4 separate regions of the Homo sapiens genome follow, and all the other regions are linked to region 1. Evidence: promoter capture Hi-C in 16 types of primary human blood cells and fetal thymus (Javierre and others, 2016). All regions are on one chromosome and are shown on one strand. The core of a region is centred on a gene start or on the middle of the fragment in contact, and the rest is flanking DNA. Distances in the headings are between cores, read along the strand shown. Region 1 holds the start of IPO4 (importin 4). Region 2 overlaps HAUS4 (HAUS augmin like complex subunit 4). Region 3 overlaps C14orf93 (chromosome 14 open reading frame 93). Region 4 overlaps ACIN1 (apoptotic chromatin condensation inducer 1).

Region 1 (2,799 bases), core at 198-2,697:
GAGTCAAAGATAACGAGGGCCCACATCTCACCACATCTTCAGTGCTGAGGTAGGGAGCCATGGTGGTCAGAGTGCGCAGGGAGTAGAAGAGCAGCCCAGGAGAGCCCACCTCACCAAGAGTCTCATTCAGAAGCCGAAGAAGCTCCCGGTGGTGGGGTTGGAAGGCCTCGGGCCGGGAGGTCACCACCACACTTAGCAGCAAAAGCCCCATCTGTCCAAGAATAGAGGATGGGAGAGCAAGCTTACAAGGTCTATCCAGCCTCTCAGGCCCTCCCTCCTGCCAACCATGTGATGGTACCTCTCTCTCTGGGCTGTGGGGGCTGTGGGTACTGTGCTGAAGCAGCTGCAAAAGCTGTGGCCAGGCCTCCAAGCCTTCCTTTCGAAAAATGGTGGCTGAGAGCTGGGCCAGGCTGAGGCTCACACAGTGCCTGCAAACAGGAGAGATCTCCTCCAATCACCCTTCAATACCTTCCTCTGCACACAGTGGCCAGGCTCAATGGGGCAGCCAGGACAGAAACTTTCAGGAGGTGTGGGCACAGGGTCTTTGCCAAGTTGGGACACATGAGACAGCAGCTCAGAGGGAGCCCAACAGCACTGTGGGCATGTAATCTGGTAAGTTCAGTCTAACTTAGCCTGAATTTCAGTCTTATTCTTCTGACTTGGGTTTGGCAGATCATCATCACCCTTCCTCAAGAACTTTAGTCTTCAAAACAGCCTTAAAATCCTCACTCCACCTTGCGTCTAGAACTGAAGTCCCTGCCCCACAAGTCCCAGCCTGGAGCCGAAAAGGAAGGCAGAAACCTAGACAAAGTCGTCAAGATCCCGAGAGAAGTGGGTAGGTACTTACTCTGTTTCTCTCTGCAGGGCCGTCAGGATCAGGGACTTGAGGCTGGAACACAGGTGGCAGGTGTTTGGTACCCAGCCTGCCCAAGAAAAGTCTCCGCCTGGCCCCGCCCCACCCCAGGCCCAGCCCACCTCTCCCGTTGCTCCGCCGCCAGCCGTCGCCAGCGGGTGTTCAGTCGTCTGCGGGTCAGCACGGCCGCAAACTGGCGGATCTAGGACGAGGAAGCAAGCACGTGGGGGTCCGGGCAGGAAGGTGCTGAGCGGACCGCAGTGGGCGAATACTGGGGCTTGACCGGTGGCGTACAGTGGGAAGCTCGGAGGGGAGAGTCAGGGGTCTCACCTGGGGGTCGGCCGCCGAGGCTAGCAGGTCGCAGAGAGCCGGCAAAGCGGCGGGGGCCCGAAGAACGATCTGGAGCTGTTCCGTGGCCTGGGGGGAAGCTAGGGGTGAGAGTTGGGCCTTTCCCGCAACCTCCCGCTCGCCCTGGCCCGGTTACGCCTGCTCCGTACCCGACGGATGCGCTCGGTGTCCGGTAGCAGCAGCTCCCGTAGGAGCTGCTCTAGCCCGGCTGACTCCATGGCAGCAACTGAGCCGCCGCTACTGGGCCGAAAAGGGGAGGGGGAGGGACAGCACGTGGAGGTTCTGACACCCACTTCCGGAGGAAAGGGCGTTGCTGCACGCCCCGCGGGTTGCCAAGGTGATTCAATTCGCTTCCCACAAAGAGGTCCGGCTCCTCCACTTCCGTTAGGCTGAGCACCGGCTGAATCGCGGAAACCCGACTCTGGCAATGTAGGTTCCCCACGCCGGGAGTTCCCAAGCTGGGTTGGAGAACTCGAGCTTCGGGCATTCAGTGGCCAGCTCGGCTTTATAAAGGACCGTGCCCTTAACAGCAGGGCTCGAGTTCCTATATCCAGACCAAAACCTCCAACTGCATGAGCCTTTTTCTTAATAAATTTTATTTTGGTAATTGTAAAAAGAAAAATCAGGACCAAAACTAAAGGCAACTTAAAAAGTTCAAATATATAATCCTTATGTGATAGAGATTTATAATTTCCAGGCCCTCTCTGGGGAAGGAATGCCCAAAGGGCAAAAGGGAAGGCAACAATGCCATCACACAATTCAGTCAATCAGAAGAGAAGCTGGTAGGAGAGTTCAACAGGGCATGAAGAAAGGGAGAGAACAGCAATAGTTCTGCCATACAGAACTCAGTCCATCTTGAGGTTAACATAGATATACCGGATGAACTTTAGGGAAGAAAAAAAGGAGATGGTGCCCAGCATGAGGAAGAAGACATAACCAGTGAGTAAGGAGTAGCCGAAGAACTCTACTGTCTGTACTGCCCCAGACATGTTGGAGCGCCGGGCATAATAGAAAACTGAGTAGAGGAAGATGAAGAGGCCGGTGGAGCCAACACTCAGCACAGATCGCCACCACCAGCGGTAATCCTCCCCAGACAACTGGAAGTAGGTGAGTGCAATGGAGATGCAAGCCCCCACACTCAGCAGGATGGCGAAGACAAAGAAGAGGATGCCGTACAAAGTGTACTGCTCCCGACCCCATACTGTGGCAAAGATGTAGTACAGCTCCACAGAGATGGCACTGTGAAGAAAAGAGATGATACACAGCATTAAAGGGCTGTGCACCATCAGCACAGTGGCTGGGCTGAAATCCAGCCCCCACCCTCTCCCATGTTGCTGGGTCATTGTGAAAAGTGAGTTCACTCCACTCTCTGCCCCAGATCTCCTGGCTTCATGGGGATTTTTTGCCTATGATTAGCCGCTCTCACTTCAAGAATATCTTCCCTAATAGATTGAGGGCAGGGATCTTGTCCATTTTATTCCACTTTATTCTTTGCCTGGCACAAAGAGGTATTCAACAAAGTAAATGGGTCATCAAATGGGCTTTAAACCCCACATGATGTCCATAGGCATTAAAGTCAGAAACCAGGAAGGTGAAGG
Region 2 (2,799 bases), core at 98-2,597, 1.2 Mb before region 1:
GATACACATTCAGGGCCAGGCACAGTGGCTCACGCCTGTAATCCCAGCACTTTGGGAGGCCAAGGTGGGTAGATCATGAGGTCAGGAGACTGAGACCATCCTGGCTAACACGGTGAAACCCCGTCTCTACTAAAAATACAAAAAATTAGCCAGGCGTGGTGGCGGGCACCTGTAGTCCCAGCTACTCGGGAGGCTGAGGCAGGAGAATGGCGTGAACCTAGGAGGTGGAGTTTGCAGTGAGGTGAGACTGCGCCACTGCACTCCAGCCTGGGGGACAGAGCGAGACTTCGTCTCAAAAAAAAAAAAAAAAAAAAAAGAGATACACATTCATTCAGGGTGGTCAGACTCAAATAAGAAAATCATTACACAGAAGCAAGTAAAAGCTGAAATATGAATACTACGTCTAGAAACACATTATTATAAACAGCTTGACATAAATGGTATTATACCCTCCAAGCTTATACAGAGAGTATAAGGTGTTCTATGAGTCTGAACTTTCCTCCCTAAACCATTCTGAACCTCCTGAGAGAACTCATCCTTCCCTGCAGCAGGAGGACACTCCCACTCAGTATCTTGCTGAATAAAAAGAGTCCTTACAAAGGTCCTTGTTTTGGCCGGGTGTGGTGGCTCACACCTGTAATCCCAGCACTTTGGGATGCCGAGGCAGGCGGATCACCTGAGGTTGGGAGTTCCAGACCAGCCTAATCAACATGGAGAAACCCCATCTCTACTAAAAATACAAAATTAGCCGAGCGGGGTGGCGCATGCCTGTAATCCCAGCTACTCGGGAGGCTGAGGCAGGAGAATCACTTGAATCTAGGAGGAGGAGCTTGCGGTGAACAGAAATGGCGCCATTGCACTCTAGCCTGGGCAACAGGAGCAAAACGCCATCTCAAAAAAAAAAAAAAACAAAAAAACAAAAAGTCCTTGTTTTTATTCTACCAGCAACAAAACAAATAAGCATCTCTGATGGTTCTAAACCTCTGTCCCAAATCTAAAATCAAAATATATTATTCTCAAAAGAGCAGACCAGGAACCCTGAAGTCCAGCTGTGAGCAGAACAGACAGCTAGCACTCACCTGAATTGGGATCATAGTAGCAGAGCAGAGTGAAACATTTCTTTTTGAGCTGCTCCTCTACTTCTTGCTGTAGCCGAGCCCTCATCCACACAAAATCCTACAGTCATAGAAGTAAAGGCAGAAATGCGAATAGACTGTAAAAACTAGGACGTCTCAGCCAATGAATACATGATGATAACCTCAATAATAGCCAAAGAAAATGCATCAAGAGACATCAGAGAGACTCATTTTTCACCTATCAAATTAGCGAAGAATAAAATGACTGTCAAGACCCCATGTTGGTGAGAACATGGGGGATCCAGGAGCCCTGAAAATACCTTTCTGGATAGCAGTTTGGCATTAGGTACCAATATTCTGTATGAGTATGCACTGACTCAGGAATCCCACTTTTAGCACCAGCATTACAGAAATAATCATACAAAGGTAAAGACACATATGAACCAGCATGTTCATCTCCCTGTGGTTTCTAACAGCAAAAATGTGGAAACAACCTTAATATCCACCAATAAGGTTAAGCAAATTATTCTACATCCATATAATAGAATCCTAGCAGAGATTTAAACTGATGACATAACACTAAGCACTATGTGCCTAGATACTTTGCTAACAGTGCTATAGAAGCTATCATCTTATTTACATTTATGTATTGACTTGAAAAGAAATCCAAAATATATTACATGAAAATAGACTGTACTTTTCTTTTTTTGAGACAGGGTCTCACTCTGTGCCCAGGCTGGAGTACAGTGGCATGATCACAGCTCACTACAGCCTTGACCTCCCACCCTCAAGTCATCCTCCTGCCTCTGTCTCCCGAGTAGCTGGGACTACAGGTGTGCACCACCAAACCTGGCTTTTGTTTTGTTTTTTTTTTGGTAGAGACGAGGTCTCACTATGTTGCCCAGGCTGGTCTTGAACTCCTGAACTCAAGTGATCCTCCCACCTCAGCCTCCCAAAGTGCTACGATTATAGGCGGAAGTCACTACACTCGGCCTTATACTCTCTATATAAGCATGAAGGGTATAATACCATTTATGTCAAGCTGTTTATAATAATATTGTGCTTCTAGATGCAGTATTTCAGCTTTTACTTGCTCCTGTGTAACGTTTTTCTTATTTGAGTCTGACCACCCTGAATGTGTATCATTTTTACAAAAACAATAAAGCTTGACAAAAAAAACATTTTAAAGATATGGGAGAAATTAAACCATTTCATTTATTTGGTTCCAATATCTCCCCGCCAACCTCTGAGAGTGGCATGAGTTCCAGAAGGTCCGCTTTCTCCAGCCCCAGCAGTGGAGGTATCTCCCTCTCCTGGCTAGGACCTAAGAGCCGCATCAGTTCAGTTACAAGCAGCCGCTGTTCAAGGGTCTCATGAAACTGAGAGAGAGAGAATAAAAAACAAAAAGAGGCAACTATAAAACTTCTCCCACTCCACCTCTTCCATCCTTATGAACCAGTTTTTCACATATTTTCAAAGTCCTCAAATATATCATCCCCCCTCAGATAACTCAGCTGCGAGTGACTTCTGTCAATGTTTCTATTACAAACTCTGATAACACATCCACTCCTTCCCCATAACTACAGTCCATTTCTCTTTTGACAAACCATTTCTCAAAGCTCCTACTTCCCCTAGATCACATCATCAGACAAAGCCACAGTTGGCCTGGTCATTCCTGTAACTGGTAACCAACCCCACCTCATTTCTTTCACCTCACTTTTTT
Region 3 (2,799 bases), core at 116-2,615, 1.2 Mb before region 1:
TAGAAAGTCCTGAAAACAACTGACTAGGTCTAAAAAAGAGAAAAAGATCTTCAATCTTGGGATGCGTTGCCAACACAACATGACAGTAGATGTCACACTTAGGTTTGCAAAAAATATAAGCATTTGGGGTTCATTTCAGTATTGGTCTAATTTAAATAAATGTGAAACGAGCCTTAAAAATGTACTTTCCAGTACTTTTGGTATTTTTCATAAATATTTAGATAAAAAAGAAAGACAATTCATCTCCTTTAGACAGACAGTTCAGGGTAAGACTGTCCATAATTTTAACTATCCCTTTCCTCCCAAGTCACATTTTTGTTAGGACTAAATATATCATACTCTTGGCAGTTCCCTTGCTTGCTTTCTCCCCATTCTGAGTTTGAATTTTCTGCATGACTGAGTTCACCTCCAAACTATGAAAAATAAAAGTTTTCTCACTATTTAATAGATGTGTATGATATGGTATCACTCAGATGATATATGTTTTTATAATGGGTGCTTGACTCATTCAGGGTCATGCTAGCAATAGACTTCCTTAAATGTGATTACTGAAAGCATGGCAATTCATATCATAATCTTCATTTTAAGAAATAAATAAGGAAAACGGCCACTTAAAGCTCCTGCTGTGTTGGTCAGTCCTACTCCTCCACTTCAAGGTGCAAAATGGCTCACCTGTCAAAAGGTTCTCTCAAAACCTATTTTTATCAGAAATGAGCTCCTTATCACACAAGAGCAGCTAAGTAAATACCACAAAATACTATTTTCCCACATTTTAAAAGAGTGACTCGACTAATGGTCTGCAAAAAATCCAAGACCTTATTTTTAGGGGTAAAAAAGAGAGCTGTAGACCCAGAAGGCCGAATGCGGTCTTTAAAGGATTCCACGTAATCTGAAAATTCCACGTATATTTCTATAGCAGGATGAGAATTTTTAGCCCAGTATAGCACAGTCCTTTTTATTTACATTTGCTAAGATTACATTGGTAAGATTAATATTTCCGATTTCAGGTTTGCCTAAAGGACCCACTGCATTTATGGAGAAACTGAAAAATGAAAAAGTAGCTCCTAGAACTCGTGCCAGCGAGAACTTGGTAAATGTTAGTTGATTAAATATTAGTCAAGGATGACAAGGTGGACCCCAGGGAGGGCAGAACCGTTTCCGATGGGTCAGTGTGATTCAGCTACGGGAAAGGCGATCGCAGCGACGCGGGAAGCAGAGATCGGCGACTGCTCAAGAGGCCTCAGGGGACAGGGTGACTCGCCACTGTGCCCTACCATACAGTGCGCTCTGGGAGTCCCGGGTAAAGGGGGTCATTCCCGCGAGGGATGCGGAGAGCAGAGCGGCCGGAGGAGCGGCTAGGGATCTCGCCGGGTCACCGGGGAGGGTAGACTACGTAGCCCCGAGAGCTTTGAGAACTTGGGCTGAAGGCGGCGCTCGCCGTGAGAACTGACGCGGAGGTGCAGCTTTGCAGCCCTACAGATGTTCTACCGCGTGTGCCTGGCGCTACCGCACGGGCTGACTCAGCTAGGCAGAGGCGGAGGCGGGCGCGCGGGAGACAGAACTATCCGCGGCGCCTGCCCGTGTACCCGGCTACCGCGCGCACGCGGGGAGACACCGCCCCGTTTGCCTTCTGGCTCCCGGTGATTGGCGGTTAGACGATGGCTGGGGAGCAGGGTCACGGACACTATTGGCTGCAAACAACAGTCACTCAAAAAGTCAGGTAGGGGAGGGGCCTCCTCAGGGAGGGACAAGACTGTGAGGCTTTTTCAAGGCCGTCAGACGCCATCTTTAGCTTGTTTTTGTTTACTTGCTTTTGTTCTCTGCTGCTCACAAACCTGTGTGTACACGATTATAAGCACAGTGGCCACAAATCGGCGTCACACGTTGGGTGGTGGCCGACTTTTAGTTACTGCTGGCCTCGGTTACATTTCTTTCACATGTCACCTGCAAATTAGCAGCTCCTCACAGTTCAAAGAAGTTTCCAATACTAGGGGCCCCGAGGATTCCCAGGCAAAATCAACAGAGTTTAGTTTTGCTTTGCTTTGGAAGGCCAAGCCAACGATATATATGTGCGAGGAATTCTCTCCTTTCTTAGGAAGAAAAAGCAAGAACAGTGGATATGACCCTACGTTCCTGGATGTAGAAATCAAATAGCCTAGGAAATCAGGGATACGGGCTCTGCACTGTTCAGGGAGAGCTCTCCCTATTTTTTGAGACGCTAAAAAGTAAGGTAAAAAGTATATGTGATGACCTGTAGTGATGTGGAAAAGAGCTAAAAAGGGTAAAACTCCATTAAAAATTCCCGTAACTGGCCGGGCGCGGTGGCTCACGCCTGTAATCCCAGCACTTTGAGAGGCAGAGGCGGGCGGATCACCTAAAGTCAGGAGTTGGAGACCAGCCTGACCAACATGGTGAAACCCCGTCTCTACTAAAAATACAAAAATCAGCCCGGCATGGTGGCACATGCCTGTAATCCCAGCTACTCGGGAGGCCGAGACAGGAGAATCGCTTGAACCCAGGAGGCGAAGGTTGCAGTGAGCCAAGATCGCACCATTGCCACTGCAGCCTGGGCAACAAGAGCGAAACTCCGTTTCAAAAAAAAAAAAAAAAAAAAAAAAAACTCCCATCACTGTTGTGATCACAAAGATCACTAAAATGTGACTAGATTTCAAAGAAATGCAGGTCTGAAATTGTGGAATAATCCACAGTCGAGCCAGTATTTATTAAGCACTGGTCTGACTTGAATTGTTAGAGAATAAAAATACACTCAGCACAAGTAAGAAACCCAGAAAGCCCAAA
Region 4 (2,799 bases), core at 208-2,707, 1.1 Mb before region 1:
GACCCTTAGGTTTCTGGAAGGTGTTTCTTGATCCTCTTCCTCCTCAGCAGGTTGGCTGCCCTCAGACAGTTTAGCTGCTCTTGCCTGAAAGAACAGATACACAATGGCTCCAAATGTATTTGCTCACAGTCAACAGAGGAGAGAAAGTATCTAATGAAGACACCCCTAGGAAGGAGAAATTCAATGATATATACTTTCAGCAACAGAAACAGGAGTGACAGGAGACAATCATGACTAACGTAGCCCTTAGGGGAATCAAAACAAAGTGACCAAAAGAAATATCACAATGAAGCTACTTGTATGTAGTTTAAATTTTAGCTTCAAGCACCCCCTTTTTTTTTTTTTCAGTAAAATATTAGCAGAACATCTGGAAAGTAAAAGGGTGGATAGGGGGCTGAAAGGAACTAACCTACTATCAATTAATACGATTATCTTTTTATCATTTTGGTATATTTCTTTTTGTTCTTTCCTCTAATCATTTCCTTTGTACAGTCATAATTACACTACACATAACATTTTTGTATTCTGCCCACTTAGTGTTATATAACTTTAAAGCTTTGATTGAATGGTTAATTATGTCATATCTTGTCTAATAATGTGCTTTAAGAATACAGAGCAGCCTGCTAATTTTCAAATTTAAACTTTTAAAAAATATTCACTTAGAAATCTAAAAGGCAGAGCAGATCTAAATAAAAAGACAAAACGAACAACAAAAAGATGACAAAGAGGAGAAGGAAGATAACCACAAAGAAATCTAGAGGCCAGGCAGTGGCTCATGCCTGTAATCCCAATCCTTTGGGAGGCTGAGGTGGAAGGACTGCTTAAGCCTAGGAGGTCGAGGCTGTAGTAAGCTGTGATTGTGCCACTGCACTCCAGCCTAGGCGACAGAGCCAGACTCTGTCCCAAAAAAGAAAAACAAAACCCCTAAATGTAGAGACATACAAACTCAAAACAAGTCTGAAGAAGAGAAGATATCCAAAGCATTACTGAAGAGGTAATGCTTTAGGAGGTATCTGAGTTACCTGTCTGACCCTAGATGATCGTCTTTCTCCTTTCCTTGGTTTCTCATCATCAGAGTCACCTTTCTCTTCAGAAATTGAGGAGCTTTTTCCTATTGAATGAAAAAGAATCAAGTCAGATTCATGAAGTGAAGACTCATTCATGGCTTTTTAAAAATCAGGCTTTCTAATATCCAACCAATTATAGCATATGAGCCTATCAAGACATATCTGTATCGGTTTCTTTGACTTCTACACTAAAGAAAAGACTACAAAAAGCCCTAACTAGGTCAGGGTCTTATTGGTAATTCTTGGTGTGCAAGTCTAGAATATTTTCAACACCTCGAAGCCAATTCACATGTTATAAATAACTCAAATAAATGTAAAATAATTTCCAGGGGCTTCAAACTGTCTAGCAGGGATGTACAAATATGAAGTGTACTTATTTCTACAAAGTGTTCTTACTCTGAATAAAGTTTAAGACTTCATTATGTTCTGTATCCATTTTTTTGGATTGCCTATTACTACTACTTTCTAATTTCAACCAAAATATTATGATGAAATATATGAATTTGCACAATAACAAACTCAAGAAATAAATACTTAGAGGAATGTTTTTCAGCGCCCTAAAGTTCCTGAAATTACTTCAAGCCAACTGGATGGGGTTTCAGAATTGGGTCCTGTCTATTAGGTTTTATGTATTAGAGCTCAATATTTTTTTTTTTTTTTTTTTTTTTTCTGAGATGGAGTCTCACTCTGTCACCCAGGCTGGATGCAGTGGTGCAATCTCGCCTCACTGCGACCTCTGCCCCCTGGCTTCAAACCAGTCTCATGCCTCAGCCTCCTGAGTAGCTGGGATTACAGGTGCCCACCACCATGCCTGGCTAATTTTTGTATTTTTAGTAGATATGGGGTTTCATCCTGTTGGACAGGCTGGTCTCAAACTCCTGACCTCAAGTGATCTGCCCGCCTTGGCCTCCCAAAGTGCTGGGATTACAGGCATGAGCTCACATGTTTTTCTTTTTTTTTTTTTGAGACAGAGTTTTGCTCTTGTTGCCCAGGATGGAGTGCAATGGCATGATCTAGGCTCACCACAACCTCCGCCTCCCAGGTTCAAGCGATTCTCCTGCTTCAGCCTACCGGGCAGCTGGGACTGCAGGCGCACGCCACCATACCTGGCTAATTTCGGTATTTTTTACAGAGGCGGGGTTTCATCATGTTGCCTAGGCTGGTTCGAACTCCTGGGCTCAAGCAATCCCCCCGCCTTGGCCTCCCAAAGTGCTGGAATTACAGGCGTGAGTCACCGCACCCGGACTAGGTGAGATTTTTTTTTTTTTTAAGGAAAAAAAAAGTTCTATTAAAAAGCTTGGAAACCACCAATCTAGGTTATCCTGAACAATAAATCCATGTAAAACGGAAAGAAAGTTTCACTCAAATTCCATGAAGGAAGGTAACTGGGTAAATCACTTAAGTAATTTGGGTCTCAATATCTTTCTTTTTAGACAGTGTTTTACTCTGTCACCCAGGCTGGAGTGCAGTGGCATGATCATGGCTCACTGCAGCCTCAGCCTCCAGGGCTCAAGTAATCCTCCCACCCCGGTCCTCCCAAAGTGCTGAGATTAAGGTATAAACCACTGTGCCCGAGTCTCAAATGTCATGATTGAGAAAAAGGAGGGGCTGCACTAGATGATTTCCAAATTTCCTACCAGAATTAAGATCAACTAGGCGGCCGGGCACGGTGGCTCACGCCTGTAATCCTAGCACTTTGAGAGGTCGAGGCAGGCGGATCACGACGTCAGGA

Evidence for each region. Contacts are between HindIII fragments. The CHiCAGO score rates a contact against its expected background, and 5 or more counts as called.
Region 2: a contact is called between a fragment that was not itself captured here and the fragment with the promoter of IPO4 in region 1, in 1 of 17 cell types (monocytes). The highest score is 5.7, in monocytes.
Region 3: a fragment that was not itself captured here is called in contact with the fragment with the promoter of IPO4 in region 1 in 1 of 17 cell types (activated CD4 T cells); the score reaches 6.5 in activated CD4 T cells.
Region 4: a contact is called between a fragment that was not itself captured here and the fragment with the promoter of IPO4 in region 1, in 1 of 17 cell types (monocytes). The highest score is 6.4, in monocytes.

Annotation. Positions count from the first base shown.
Region 1 is chr14:24,187,369-24,190,167 of GRCh38, forward strand. IPO4 (importin 4) reads right to left here and starts at 1,448. Exons shown (of 30, transcript NM_024658.4): 1 at 1,351-1,448; 2 at 1,184-1,270; 3 at 976-1,055; 4 at 848-889; 5 at 299-428; 6 at 32-211. The coding sequence starts at 1,419. It overlaps TM9SF1 (transmembrane 9 superfamily member 1), which reads right to left. Exons shown (of 6, transcript NM_006405.7): 6 at 1,781-2,440. The coding sequence ends at 2,047. RefSeq lists silencers at 444-654, 900-1,019. The HindIII fragment of the contact is 6,803 bases long and covers 240-2,799 here.
Region 2 is chr14:22,949,235-22,952,033 of GRCh38, forward strand. It overlaps HAUS4 (HAUS augmin like complex subunit 4), which reads right to left. Exons shown (of 10, transcript NM_001166269.2): 5 at 2,321-2,455; 6 at 1,080-1,176. All of the region lies in intron 2 of PRMT5-DT (PRMT5 divergent transcript), which reads left to right. Among named protein-coding and RNA genes, the nearest start is that of MIR4707, 6.4 kb to the right of the region's middle. The HindIII fragment of the contact is 1,784 bases long and covers 456-2,239 here.
Region 3 is chr14:23,005,561-23,008,359 of GRCh38, forward strand. All of the region lies in intron 1 of C14orf93 (chromosome 14 open reading frame 93), which reads right to left. LOC124903286 (a long non-coding RNA gene) reads left to right here. Exons shown (of 2, transcript XR_007064075.1): 2 at 1,008-2,799. Among named protein-coding and RNA genes, the nearest start is that of C14orf93, 3.2 kb to the right of the region's middle. RefSeq lists enhancers at 1,081-1,450, 2,384-2,799 and a silencer at 1,611-1,660. The HindIII fragment of the contact is 3,706 bases long and covers 1-2,799 here.
Region 4 is chr14:23,080,726-23,083,524 of GRCh38, forward strand. ACIN1 (apoptotic chromatin condensation inducer 1) reads right to left here. Exons shown (of 19, transcript NM_001386863.1): 5 at 1,023-1,111; 6 at 1-84. LOC124903288 (a long non-coding RNA gene) reads left to right here. Exons shown (of 2, transcript XR_007064077.1): 2 at 1-1,489. Among named protein-coding and RNA genes, the nearest start is that of ACIN1, 13 kb to the right of the region's middle. The HindIII fragment of the contact is 1,808 bases long and covers 554-2,361 here.